4 separate regions of the Homo sapiens genome follow, and all the other regions are linked to region 2. Evidence: promoter capture Hi-C in 16 types of primary human blood cells and fetal thymus (Javierre and others, 2016). All regions are on one chromosome and are shown on one strand. The core of a region is centred on a gene start or on the middle of the fragment in contact, and the rest is flanking DNA. Distances in the headings are between cores, read along the strand shown.

Region 1 (3,240 bases), core at 139-2,638, 800 kb after region 2:
GTCATTTATTAAGCTGTGAGGACGCAAACTGAAATTTTCTAGTTCTGACTGAGTCAATGACGCACCTTTTTTGTAAAAATAAAGAAGTAGGGAGAGGCGTTTGCTTCCCTGTGCCTCAGTTTTCCTCTCCTTAAAGTAAAAAAACAATTTCACCTTATATCACACTACAGCTGTAAGGAAGAAAAAAAATGAATATAATCCAAAAGCAAGGTGACATTTTATAGCAGGAAAATACTCTAGGAATCATCTTTCACTTTGTAAAAGAGAAAACAAAGGCTGTAGGCAACATTTCATATGTTAAGCCTAGATTTGAGTGTCTTGAGTCCCAGTCGTAGGTATTATATCTAATATAATGTACCTGGTAATATTGAAGCACTTCTTAGCACCTAATTTGTACCAAACACATTCTAAGCATTTAATCCTCATAGTACCAATATTGGGTAGGATTATTCATGTCAGAGAGGTAAAGTGAATTCCACAATATCACACAGCTAGTAGGTGGTAAAGCAGTATTTGAACCCAGGAAGTCTGGCTTCAGACTCTATGCTTTTAATCAGTATGATAACTTGCCTCTTTTGTTATTAGGGAAAGAGCCTGACAGAACCAAGCCTGTTAAGAGTTGAATTTCAGTTTTCCACTTCAGGATAAAAAAGGATTAGAATGGTAATTAAACATATACATTAAAAGGAGTGTGCAGAACCTGTAGATAGATTGTGATGAAGACTGAACTTCATTGTTCTTCCTCTGGCTTGAGCAGATCCTTAGGGTTTTAAGTTCTGCTCTATAAGGTGTGCAGTAGGTCCACCAGCTAACTGTGGAGGGCTGTGGTAATAGATGAGCAGTATATTAAAGACCATTATGCAAAACTAACTTAAGATAAACTTATTAGAAAATGTAGACCAGACAAATGGTCTGATCTGTGAAGTAACGTGGTGGAATTAACAGTCAATGCGGCCTCAAGGTGGAACTAACAGTCAATGTGAACTTTACATAGATGGTTGCTTTTGCAGCTGAAGAGAGGCTGTTCTTAGCTGGAGTTCTCCATCTTTCCCACGGAACTCTGCATAGGTTTAAAAAATGGTATCCAATGACTATAACAAAAGAAATCACCATTATCTCCAGCTCTGATTATTTTCTGCACTCTGGCAACAGACTTCTTCAAGTGGGAAATGTTTAAATTGTTATAAAAACAAGTAGTGCTGTCCTTGCAACATGTTTGATTATCAGTTTTTTTATCTTTATTGATCTTTCAGTGGATGTGAAAAAAGCTTTCCTTAAAACTAAACAGTTTATAGACTATAATTTTATAGGTAATGAGTCATTATTTAGGTATTACTACAGATGTGGGTACTAAGTGTTCTTCAAAGCACGGAAGGTAGCCTCTTTTTATTTCTGATCAGTGGAGAAATAACCACCCTATGTTGTACCAAATCTTACAGAACAGTCTGAACTGAAGAATAACATGAGGAAATTTCATCTAAAAAAATTATATTAAAAGGGAAGCTTTATATGGAAACAGGCATGGATTTAATACTTCTTCTGGATGCTATAATAAAATGTTTCATTAGTCTTTCAGGAATGGAAAGCAGATGGATATTTAACTGACACTCTGCACAGAAACCAGAGACTGAACATTTTATTAATTTTATCAGTTGCATGGTACCAACTTGAATGGAAACTAAAGATTGAAGTTTTATTCATTTTATCTGTTCCCTTACGAAGGGAAAAGGATTAACTGTAACTGTTCTTTATCTGAATTTCTCATATCTGAAATGGAAACTATTCTAATCTGTGTAGCCTTTAAACAGTCTCTCTTCTTCTTGTTTATTTTAGCTGATGACGTGGTTTTGCTCATCAAATCACGTTAATTATTTAAAGGAAAAAAATTGAAATTTTTCACATGTCTTTTTTAAAGTATGATTTTTGGAAGCCCAGTAATTCTGCTGAGCCAAATATTACTTAGTAATATGGACACATACAATGTCTCAGGACATGTTACAATGGGAAATTCTGTTTTCCTCAAGCATTTCACATTAGATTATTATCTGGTTACCTTTCCTAATAGGCTAGAATTTTAGTGAAAGTCATAAAAGTAGAACTGGAGTCTCCAAAAATGAGATACTTTCTCAGGAGATGGTCATTGACACCTTCATTAGAACAAATGGACTAGAAATAAAGCTCCATTCAGAAGGCAACAAGGAATGCTACCAGCTGACTTCCTTATGGCAGTCCATGGCAGTGTATAAATATGCAAATGAAATTAAAGATTCACGGATTATTTTTAGCAATGTGTTAGTTCCAGTGGCCTGGAAATTTTTCTCTCAGGTACTGAATTCTGTAACCCTTGAGAATTCAGTTACATACAGTGATATATTTCTCTTCTTCTAGTTCTGCAGGGCACAGTAATATGCCCTTCAGACAAACAAACAAACAAAAAACCCTCTGTATACAGGTGGGTATCCATCTACCTCTCTACATTCGCTATAAACCAGTTATTCTCAAACTTAACATGTATCAGAATCATCTGAAGGGTGTGTGAAAACACACAGAGATTGCTGGGCCCTTCCTCAGTTTCTAAATCAGGACATGTGGGCTGGGGTCTGAGAATTTGCATTTCTAACACATGCCCAGGTGCTGCTGATGCTGCTGGTCTGAGGACTACACTTTGAGAAGCAATGTCTCCAGTAAGGCAAGGGATAATGAACTGGACAAGTTATTTTTCACTGTCAACCTAAATAACAGAGAGAGAGGTTCTCTAAAAGAAAATGAGGCCGGGTGCGGTGACTCATGCCTGTAATCCCAGCACTTTGGGAGGCCCAGGTGGGTGGATCATTTGAGGTCAGGAGTTCAAGACCAGTCTGGCCAATATGGTGAAACCCCATCTCTACTGAAAATACAAAAGATAGCCGGGTGTGGTGGCACATGCCTATAATCCCAGCTACTCGGGAGGCTGAGGTAGGAGAATTGCTTGAACCCAGGAGGCGGAGGTTGCAGTGAGCCAAGATCGTGCCACTGTACTCCAGCCTGGATGACAGAGCAAGACTCCATCTAAAAAAAAAAAAAAGAAAACAAAAAAATAGAAAATCATATTTATTTGGGAATATAACATTGCAGTGGAAATACAAGTGACATGGTAAACTATGTGTGTATTCAGGGAGGTAAAGAAAGACAAGGTTTTTAAAGGAAAAGTGAGGAGGGTTACACTCCCGGAACAATAACAAAGGCGGAGCCAGTCCAAAG
Region 2 (3,291 bases), core at 708-3,207:
CTCGAAATTAGGATTGGGTTGAGTATATACTTGGTCACTATTCATTTCTGGGTCTAAGAAATCCTTTTAATATTAGTATTAAAAATGAAGTATATGGCCGGGCGCAGTTGCTCACGCCTGTAATCCCAGCACTTTGAGAGGCCGAGGCGAGCGGATCATGAAGTCAGGAGATGGAGACCATCCTGGCTAATACGGTGAAACTCCGTCTCTACTAAAAATACAAAAAAATTAGCCGGGCGCGGTGGCGGGCGCCTGTACTCCCAGCTATTCGGGAGGCTGAGGCAGAAGAACGGCGAGAACCCGGGAGGTGGAGCTTGCAGTGAGCCGGGATTGAGCCACTGCACTCCAGCCTGGGCGACAGAGCAGGACTCGGTCTCAAAAAAAAAAAAGTGTATGACCTTGAAACTGATCAAGAGCAACTTTCCAAGTGAGATAAATGACGTGAAAAATCATATATTAAAGTGACCACATTTTACTTAACTCAAAAATTATCTTGGATTTGTGCCATTTTAATTTTCACTGGGTAACTTTATATGGAAAAATCACCTGCAATATGAGGATAAACTTACCTATTTTCCAGAAGCCTAATGAGATTTTTATCAATGATTACAATACTTGCGTGTCTGTCTGGGATATAATATGAACAAGACAGGCTGATGGCTTTGGAAAATGTGCCATGTTTCTACTCAATGAAGCATGAAAAGTGATTTGACAGAGTGCTTCAAGAATGCACTTTGCACTTGTTTTCCTCTCCTGCCTTCAGGAAGATAAGTGAGACAAAAAAAAAAAAAAAAAAAAAAAGACTAAAGTTAGTATTCTTCCTGAATCCATTTTTGAAGAATCCAGTATAATTTTTAGAAAATATTTCCTCTAGAGAAGACATTGTAGGAGGCATAAAAGGGGTCCGCATGTGTGAGCAATTAAAGGTTAGAAGTTTTAAGATTCTCTCATTCCTTCATTCCCACCAGGAAGTCAGTGGTCCATCCTACCTCAGTCTTTCTCCCCTGTCCTTTAAGCTGATTCCTGGCCAAATTCAGAACGGGCAGAAGCAGTAAATCTGGCCCTCTGGACAAGAGATTGAGTTGGTTTACAAAAGTTTCACAAGTATCTAAATCTAGGCCGTTACTGAATCAACTGGATAATCAGACTACCTGTGTCTGACTCTGAAGTGCAGATCAAGTTGATATCGTTGACAACTGGCCAAATCTTAGGACTGGGCCAAGGAAATGGCTGGATGTGTGTGTGTGTGTGTGTGTGTGTGTGTGTGTGTGTGTGTGTGTGTGTTGGGGTTGGAGGGCGGGGTCCGATAGTAATTATGGGTGGGGCCAAAGTCCTACCTCGTAAACAAATGCTACACGAAACATGTAAAAACGTTTATCTATGTATGTAGTGAAGCTTTAAATACATCCCAAGACCCATGCTTATCCCAATACCCACGTCCCTCCAACGACACTGTTACCCCATGCCACTGCTATACAGAATTCTGGTGTCTACCATGCCAGAATCCCTGCCCAAAACAGGGAGGAGGTAAATGGCTGAAGGCCCAGCTCCAGGCACTGTAGAAAATGAGGAAAGTCTAGCGGCAAAAAGAAAGGGCAGTCCCCTCTTCCTCTAGTACTCCTAGCCACATGCTGGACCAATTCACCCCAGGACCTCCAGGCCCTAGATTCTCATTCTTTCCCTGGCCCGAAGAGGACAGAAAAATCAAACACACGGGCTCCCACGTCTTCAGGAAAGACTTAGCTTAGCAGTCAGCGGAAGCACCTCACTACTAACCTCGCTCCTTTCTCCTCTCCTACAGGGGGCTGGAGTTCCCGGCTTCCCACCGGCCAGACGCGATTCTGGCTGGGACAGCAACACCAAAAACGCCAGGGCTAGGGAGCCCAGTTCCCCGTCCGCAGTTTGCGCATGTGCGAAGAGGGGCTTCTGGAGGAGCCGGGGGCTTAGTTGCTAAGAGACACAGCTGGAGAGAGAAGTTCCGCTTAACGCCGGGCTGCGAAAGGCGGGGACGTCACGCTATTGGTAGGGAGTAGAGAGAAAGGGCTGGTTTAAAGGCCTTTTTTTCTGTCCATTGGATGAACTGGATGTCAATAACTCAGGCTGGGTGGGCGGGGCTGAGAGAGGTCGGTGAGAGCGGCCTTAGCAACCGCCAGTGAGCTGTGAAGACTTGGGTTGGGCGGGGCTGCGGGAGGTGACGCCGGGAGGTCCCGGCTGAGAGCGCCGGCTGCCGGCTGGGGACCTGGTGAGTGTGAAGCTGTAACCTTCTGCTGGGGCCGGGGCCGAAGTTTTTCCGCCAGAGCAAGGAAGGCTGCCCCTGGCAGCAACTGCACTCCTTCCTTACTCCTGTTGAGATTCATTTTATAGTAGGAAATAGGTACTTTAATATAGTTTATCATCAATTATTCTGGTTCTGCTAACTATTCCAGTTATATAATTTATCTTTCACCCATATGTGTGTGTATTACAGGCATCTAACTACCATACAAGTTCAGACCAATGGAAGAAAAGAGCAGCAAAAATTGAACTGAATGAATCCCAAAAGCAAGAAATTAAAGACGCCTTTAATTTATTTGATATTGATGGGTCTGGAACCATCGATGTAAAAGAAGGTTCTGAAATTATTTCTAATTCTAAATCATTTTAAAAACCATATTATTTGTGGCAATCTTTAAGGCTTTCTTTAAAAGTAGTCTTCTGAAAGCTTAATATAAAGTCTCTTCAGTGCATATGCCTGCCCTGCATTAGCAAAACGATATCTTGTTAAGCATTTTAATTGTGTTTTATAAATGAGTAGGCAAAAGCCCAGGGTGTAACAGTGATGTACATGATGGCACAGTAGGACTGAAACACAGGCCTGCTGACCTAATTTTCTGTTTATGCTCAGTCCATAATAGAAAAGAGAGAAGCTCTTAATAGGGAGTTAAAAAGCTTAGAAAGAAATCATGGCATATTATAATTCCTTTTCTTCCTATTTCAGATTGCAGTGTGGGCCTTAGGATTTGAACCAAAGAAAGAAGAAATTTAAAAAATGGTAGCTGAAGTTGATAAAGAAGGAATTGGCACCATTAGTTTTGAAGATTTTTTTTTGCCATTATGAGTATAAAAATGATATAGTTATGATTTTATTTTTCAAAGAAATACTAGCAATAACCTGCTACATTTTAGGGCTGGAGCAATCAGAAGTTTTATAGAGAAGCAATTAGAACTAGGTTTTTAAGGATGGGAGATAGGAAGAGCAAGATTAAATATGTTTTCAGGGTAGTAATGAGAAGACTATGATGTGGAGAAGAG
Region 3 (3,091 bases), core at 220-2,719, 830 kb after region 2:
CAAATGGTGCCATCTGAACCTGCAATATGTTTCTATTCAAATCTAGAAGAGGAACTTAGGCTCAGGAACAGATCAAACTTCTATGGAATTTGGCCTTCTAGATGCCTTGAGTACATTTTGATAAAGTATACAAGGTCCCCAGGGAAAATTATGTTTATTATGAGCCAATTTTTAACATATATTTTCCATTAAATAGTTCTATTACAGTAGTACATCCTGCCAACATTTTGATAAATGTGAGCATATTGCTCACAGTAATTTTAACCTTTGGGAATATATTACATCACTTACAAAGCTCAACTTCCACAAAATGTTTCTTGGGAATGTTGACTCCAGAAATGTTATCAAGGAGAATAAATGGATTATATTTTTTATTCCAAATGAATGTATTCTAATTTACTAGGTTAATTGTATTTTTTCCTAGTTAAACCTCTTCACTCAGTCTAACTCAAGAGTTTTTGAATCACACAGTTTTAACAGCATTCTCAATCAGCCAACACGTTATCAGGTAAGCATTCATTAGACGTATCTCTTGATCTCTATGTGATTCCATATATGTCTGCGTGTGTGTTTGTGTGTGTGTCATGAGTTGAGTTATATTCTTGAGATATACCATTATACCATGAGGATAGTTCAGAACAAAGAAAATGATTCAACACCTGTGAAATTTTTTAAAAAAAAATTAAAAATAAAAGAAAATAGTATGTTAGTTGGAGGAGACTTTAGAAATCAGAGTCCAAGTCCTTCATTTTTTTAACTAAGAGTTCCTCTCACAATATTGAAAGCAAAGTGTTGCTACAATTGCCAAATAATGTATAACTTAAACTGGAGAAAGCAGTAGAAGACAGAGTATGTTAGAATGAATAATGCTCCCATGGCAGGAAAACTTGTTTTTTCTCTAGGTTTTTCTTTCAGGTGATCCATTTTTTAAATGGATTGTTTGGCTATACTGTTTCATGAGTGCTACTTTAAAATATCTTTTGCATTTTGATACTGGATGTGACATTTGAACACTATTCTCCAACTCAGGGGAAGTTATAGCCCTTTGTTTTTCATCTCGTTGATCATTTCGATCATCAAGTCTTTGACTTTCTAATGTGTATAAGTTCACAAAAGTGACGATCAAGGAATTTATAATATATTGGTGATGTCCGTTACTGCGTATTGTTCTATTTTTTATCCAATTTTTTTAGAAGCAGGAAACCACAAAATGGCTCAGCCCACTGATTGTCAAAGTCTTTTTTTTAAGAAAATTTTTGTAAATTTTACATATTTGTTTATTTTTGTTTTATTGGTTTTGTCTAACTTTATTTTTAATTGATAAATAATTATACTTACTCATTGTCTACATAGTGATGTTTTGATACATATGTAGGAATCAGATCAGGGTAATTAGCATATCCATCATCTCAGACATCTATCATTTCTTTGTGTTGGTAACATTCAGTATCCTCCTTCTAGCTATATGAAACTATATAATATTAATATATCATTGTTAACTATGGTCATGCTATAGTGGTATAGAACAGTGGTCCCCAACCTTTTTGGCACCAGGGACCGGTTTTGTGGAAGACAATTTTTTCACAGATGGGGTGGAATGATGGTTTCAGGGTGAAAGTGTTCCACCTCAGATCTTCAGGCTCTTCAGGCATTAGATTCTCATAAGGAGTGCACACCCTAGATCTGTCACATGTGCAGTTCACAATAGGGTTCACAATAATAGGAGAATCTAATGCCGCTGCTAATCTGACAGGAGGTGGAGCTCAAGCGGTAATGCTCGCTTGCCAGCCTGTCACTTCCTGCTGTGCAGCCTGGTTCCTGACAGGCCACGGACAGATGCCAGTCCTTCATCTGCGGGTTGGGGACTCCTGGTGTAGAACACTAGAAGTTATTCCTCCTATCTAGCGGTAATTTTGTATCCTTTAACAAATCTCTCCATATCCCTCCCTACCCCTTACCCTTCCCAGTCTCTAGTATCCTTCGTCCTACATTTTACCTCTGTGAGATCAACTTTTTTTAGCTTCCACATATGAGTTTATGAGTTAGAACATGCGGTGCTTAACTTTATGTTCCTGGCTTATTTCACTTGACATAATGTCCTCCAGTTCCATCCATGTTGCTGCAAATGATGGGATTTCAATCTTTTTTATAGCTGAATTGCATTCCGTTGTGTATATATACTACATTTTTTATACATTCATCTGCTGTTAGACACCTAGGTTGATTTCATATTTTGAATATTGTGAATAGTGCTGCAATAAAACATGTGGGTGCAGTTGTCTCTTTGATATAATGATTTCTTTTCCTTTAGATAAATTCCCGTAGTGGGGTTGCTGGATCATATGGTAGCTCTATTTGTAGTTCTTGGAAAATCCTCCATACTGTTCTACATAATGGTTGTACTAGTTTACATTCCCATCAACAACATATTAGAGTTCCCTTTCTCTGCATTCTTACCAGCATTTTTTTTTTGTCTTTTTGATAGTAGACATTCTAACTGGAGTGAGATGATAACCTCATTGTGGTTTGGTTAGTGATGTCGAGCATTTTTTCATATATCATTGACCATTTGTATGTATTCTTTTGAGAAATGTCTGTTCAGATTATTTGCCCATTTTTAATTGGAATTTTTTTTTTTTTTTTTTTTTTTTTTTTTTTTTTTTTTTGCTGTTGAGATGATTGAGTTCCCTGTATATTCTGGATATTAATCCCCTATTGGATGAGCAATTTGCAAATATTTTCTCCAATTTTGTAGGCTGTCTTTTCACTGTTGTTTTTTCCTTTGTTGGTATGAACCAAACCAAGAAGCCTTTGGTTTGGTATGATCCCATATGTTTATTTTTGCTTTTGTTACTTCTGCTTTTGAGGTCTTGTTCATAAAATATTTTCCCAGACCAGTGTCCTGAAGCATTTCTCCTATGTTTTTTTCTACTAGTTTTATCATTTCAGGTCTTACATTTAGGTCTTTGGTCCATTTTGCCCTGATTTTTATACAAGGTGAGAAGTGGGAGTCTAGTCTTATTCTTCTGCATATGGATATCCAGTTTTCCCAGCACCAGTTATTGAAGAGACTGTCCTTTTCCCAATGAGT
Region 4 (3,350 bases), core at 51-2,550, 850 kb after region 2:
TTCCCTGCAACAGAGTTTGAAATTGTTTCTTAAGCTTGTTGACCCTTCACGTTTCCATTTCTGTGAAACATTTGTTTGTCTTTTGCCCATTTTAAAATCGGGTTATTTGAGTTTTTCTTATTGAATTAAAGTTCTTTATATATTTGGATATAAATTATTTTTAATTACAAGCATTACCAATATTTTCTCCCAGTTTATGGCTTGCCTTTTCACTTTCTTTATAGTATCTCTTTAAACAGAAATTTTAAATTGTAATGAAGTTGAATTTATCAGTCTTTTCTATTGTAATCAGAAGTTTTAATCTTGTTTTTTTAAAAATACAGGTCTACCCCAAATTTATAAATATACTCTCTTATATAATACGTTCTTTTAAGGGTTCAGAAGCTTTGTCTTTCACATTTAAGATGCAAATGGAATTAATTTTTGTGTTCATGGTATGAAATAGGGCTCCAATTTAATTTTTTCCATATGGGTAAACAGTTATCCTAGAAGAGCATTTATTTAGACTGAAAATAGTCACATATATTGCTATTAGAGAAACGTATGCAATATAACAAAATATATGGCATTTAGAAAACATAAAATATAATACTTACAGTAATTAGTATATATACAAATTTTAAAGAAAAGATATTGGAAGGGCATACACCAAAATGAAAACAGTGATTATCTTTGGCTGGTGAGGTTGCCAATGATTTCATTTGTTTATTTTGTTCTTCTGTATATTTTCCAAATTCTCTATATAGAGTATACATTGATGTATTTTTCTAAATACTGGGAAATAAGGTAGTGTCTATGGGTGATAATGTGGTGTCAATGTAATTTAAAAAGAAACTATTAGTTGAAAGAGGAGCCATGAATTCAAATCTTCAAGCTTAACTTCTTTTTAAAAGCTTCTTCCGTTTCTGAGGCAAAAAAAAAGTATTGGTGGATTATGCAGTAAGTCTCAGTAGAAGGCATTAAGAGAGTTAAGTTCTGAAACCTGCGTAATTTTTCTATACATAGTTATAAAATTTTTTTCTCCCCTGAGTTGTTTGCTTTACAGGTATGTAAGCCTCTTTGGAAAATAGGATTGGGGCACTTATGTATATCATTGGAGATCTAATCATTTACTTTTGCCCAACAGCAGATAATGAAAAGACTTATAAAGCGGTATGTTTTGAAAGCACAAGTAGACAAAGAAAATGATGAAGTTAATGAAGGTAAGCATCTCCAACTTAAAAAATATCCTTTTATAGCTAACTTAATGAACCTGGAAAACTTAATGTTGAGGCATATTTTAAAAATCCAATCCCAGGTTATAGTTTGGATGCCTCTAAGATGGGAGGAGGATCTTATGTTACGTTTCTAAAACTTCATCTTTTAAAATAAACAGTTATTTACAATATTGATCAGAGGCAATTTATCTCTACTCATAGTGCCCTAACTGATTCTTAGAATGTAAAGACTGACATCTTTCTAGGAGTTTTTTAATCCTTCTGACATAAGGTAGTCAGTAAGTATTGGTTACATTTTCAATGAGTTCACATTAGTGTTAACATTTTTCCAGTTAAGCAGATAAAAGAACAGTGACTCAAACAGAATTCATGTCTTCAGGAAAACCTCTGTTTTATTGTTCAGAAACACATTTTTAACCTGTTTTTCTTGTCTGGTGCGTCTCTTTTGAATTTCACTTTCCCCCCTGCCTCCTTACTTTAAGCAAGCTTATTTTTTTAAGGCATATTTGAGGCAGGGCATCTCTCTGGACTATAAAAATTTTTTACCAAAGTCTAGGATGTAGAGCTAAACACAGGCCCAGAGTTGGAAAGAAATCAACCAGGGAGAAATAAGTTGCCCTAAAAATGGAAACTGTACCTTCCAACACCAATGAGATGCCACTAAATCTATCTACACTGATAAAAGAGGAAAGGACTAAACTTAATAAAATTGTTCATAGGCTTTGAAGCCATTACTTGATTAATACAAGGAATGCATTTTAAATGTAAATCAATCCAATAGTGTATGTATGTAGAAGAGAAACCTGTGAATTTATAATCGATAACTAGCAAAAATCTAATCATGGTGACCTAATCAATCTGTCTCAGGAGAAAGGATTGGAATGAGGTTGTAGTTTAGAAAGCAGAAGTCTGATGAGTTGTACCGTAATCTCCATGGGGGGTGGAGAGGGAGGAACAAAGTGGGAAGAACTGTATGGCTAAAACGGCATAAAAAACAAGAAGCATTTCCCAAGCCCTTGCACAAAAGGGGAAAATCAATGAGAATTTGGAGTTTTGAACAAAGTTCTTACTAAGAAAATGTGTCATATAATCTCCTCATTTAATTAATGAGGAAACTAAAATCTGAAGAGTTTGAGTAACTTGTGTTTCCTGAATTGGCAGATTAAATATTTAATACAACACATAGGTTGTAGTCTCCCCATGAGTCGGGGACAAGGAAGAAAGGATAGTAGAAGGTGAAGTAGGGCAGGGGGTCTCCTGCGGTACTGAATGGTGTGAGAATCCACTCCTTCCACTGAAGTCTGCCTCATGATTTCAAATAAGATCAGTTTATTCCTTTTATATTGCCATATGCCAAAGGAAGCACTTTTTTTTTTTTTTGCCACAAAAGGGCTCCTCAAATGTTTTGTGTGTATTCCTGAGTTAGAATTCTTTTCAAATAAAAATGCTCTGACTTTTATATAATAGAAGAATATTGAAATTATACTTTAAAGCATATTAAAGATACCAGGAAATATCATCAAAGGTGTGTTTTAAATGCCATTTTATTATAAAAACCTAAGTCAATGGTTTGAAGAATCATTTCTTAGATTCAAGGTAAATTCTTGCTCCAACATTCACTTTTGAAGGTCAGTGGTTTATCTACATTACGGTCACTTGCAAGAGAATCCAGTGTTTCTTTTCTTTTCTTTTTTAACCAAATACTGCCTCTCCTTGAAGAGAATCCAGTTTTTAATTGCAATATACGTATGCTCAAAATACTGCCAAACTGAATTATGGGAGCAATTTATTTTTATAGCCCAAACTCTCCTATTCTCTTCAGGAATATATTGTCAGTGGTATCATATCTAAACTCCTCAATTGCACTGTTGCTTGTTACTTCCTTACGCATTAGTCCTTTGTGCTGGACAAACTAATGTCTTCATGTCCATTGCCATTGCCTTCCCTAATAAACACTCCTTACTCTTTTTTCTTTCTTTCCCTTACTTCATATTTGCCTTGAAATTATTTGCCTGTCAGATAGATTGATTCATTTTTAGTAAAATTTAGTTTTTCTAGGATTCCCTTTGATCCTAGCAATGGGAGATATTTGATGCAGGTGTCAACCTTTACACTTGAAAGAAACAAAGGGAC

What was found. Contacts are between HindIII fragments. The CHiCAGO score rates a contact against its expected background, and 5 or more counts as called.
Region 1: a fragment that was not itself captured here is called in contact with the fragment with the promoter of BBS12 in region 2 in 1 of 17 cell types (total CD4 T cells); the score reaches 6.4 in total CD4 T cells.
Region 3: a contact is called between a fragment that was not itself captured here and the fragment with the promoter of BBS12 in region 2, in 6 of 17 cell types (naive CD4 T cells, total CD8 T cells, naive CD8 T cells and 3 more). The highest score is 12.4, in naive CD4 T cells.
Region 4: a fragment that was not itself captured here is called in contact with the fragment with the promoter of BBS12 in region 2 in 11 of 17 cell types (total CD4 T cells, non-activated CD4 T cells, total B cells and 8 more); the score reaches 9.9 in total CD4 T cells.

The regions. Positions count from the first base shown.
Region 1 is chr4:121,926,236-121,929,475 of GRCh38, reverse strand. All of the region lies in intron 2 of TRPC3 (transient receptor potential cation channel subfamily C member 3), which reads left to right. Among named protein-coding and RNA genes, the nearest start is that of TRPC3, 24 kb to the left of the region's middle. The HindIII fragment of the contact is 235 bases long and covers 1,271-1,505 here.
Region 2 is chr4:122,731,370-122,734,660 of GRCh38, reverse strand. BBS12 (Bardet-Biedl syndrome 12) reads right to left here and starts at 1,957. Exons shown (of 2, transcript NM_152618.3): 1 at 1,777-1,957. It also overlaps the pseudogene CETN4P. RefSeq lists an enhancer at 1,498-1,707 and a silencer at 2,068-2,287. The HindIII fragment of the contact is 1,306 bases long and covers 1,398-2,703 here.
Region 3 is chr4:121,897,029-121,900,119 of GRCh38, reverse strand. It overlaps TRPC3 (transient receptor potential cation channel subfamily C member 3), which reads left to right. Exons shown (of 12, transcript NM_001130698.2): 10 at 425-508. Among named protein-coding and RNA genes, the nearest start is that of BBS7-DT, 28 kb to the right of the region's middle. The HindIII fragment of the contact is 5,104 bases long and covers 1-3,091 here.
Region 4 is chr4:121,880,206-121,883,555 of GRCh38, reverse strand. It overlaps TRPC3 (transient receptor potential cation channel subfamily C member 3), which reads left to right. Exons shown (of 12, transcript NM_001130698.2): 11 at 1,127-1,202. Among named protein-coding and RNA genes, the nearest start is that of BBS7-DT, 11 kb to the right of the region's middle. The HindIII fragment of the contact is 810 bases long and covers 896-1,705 here.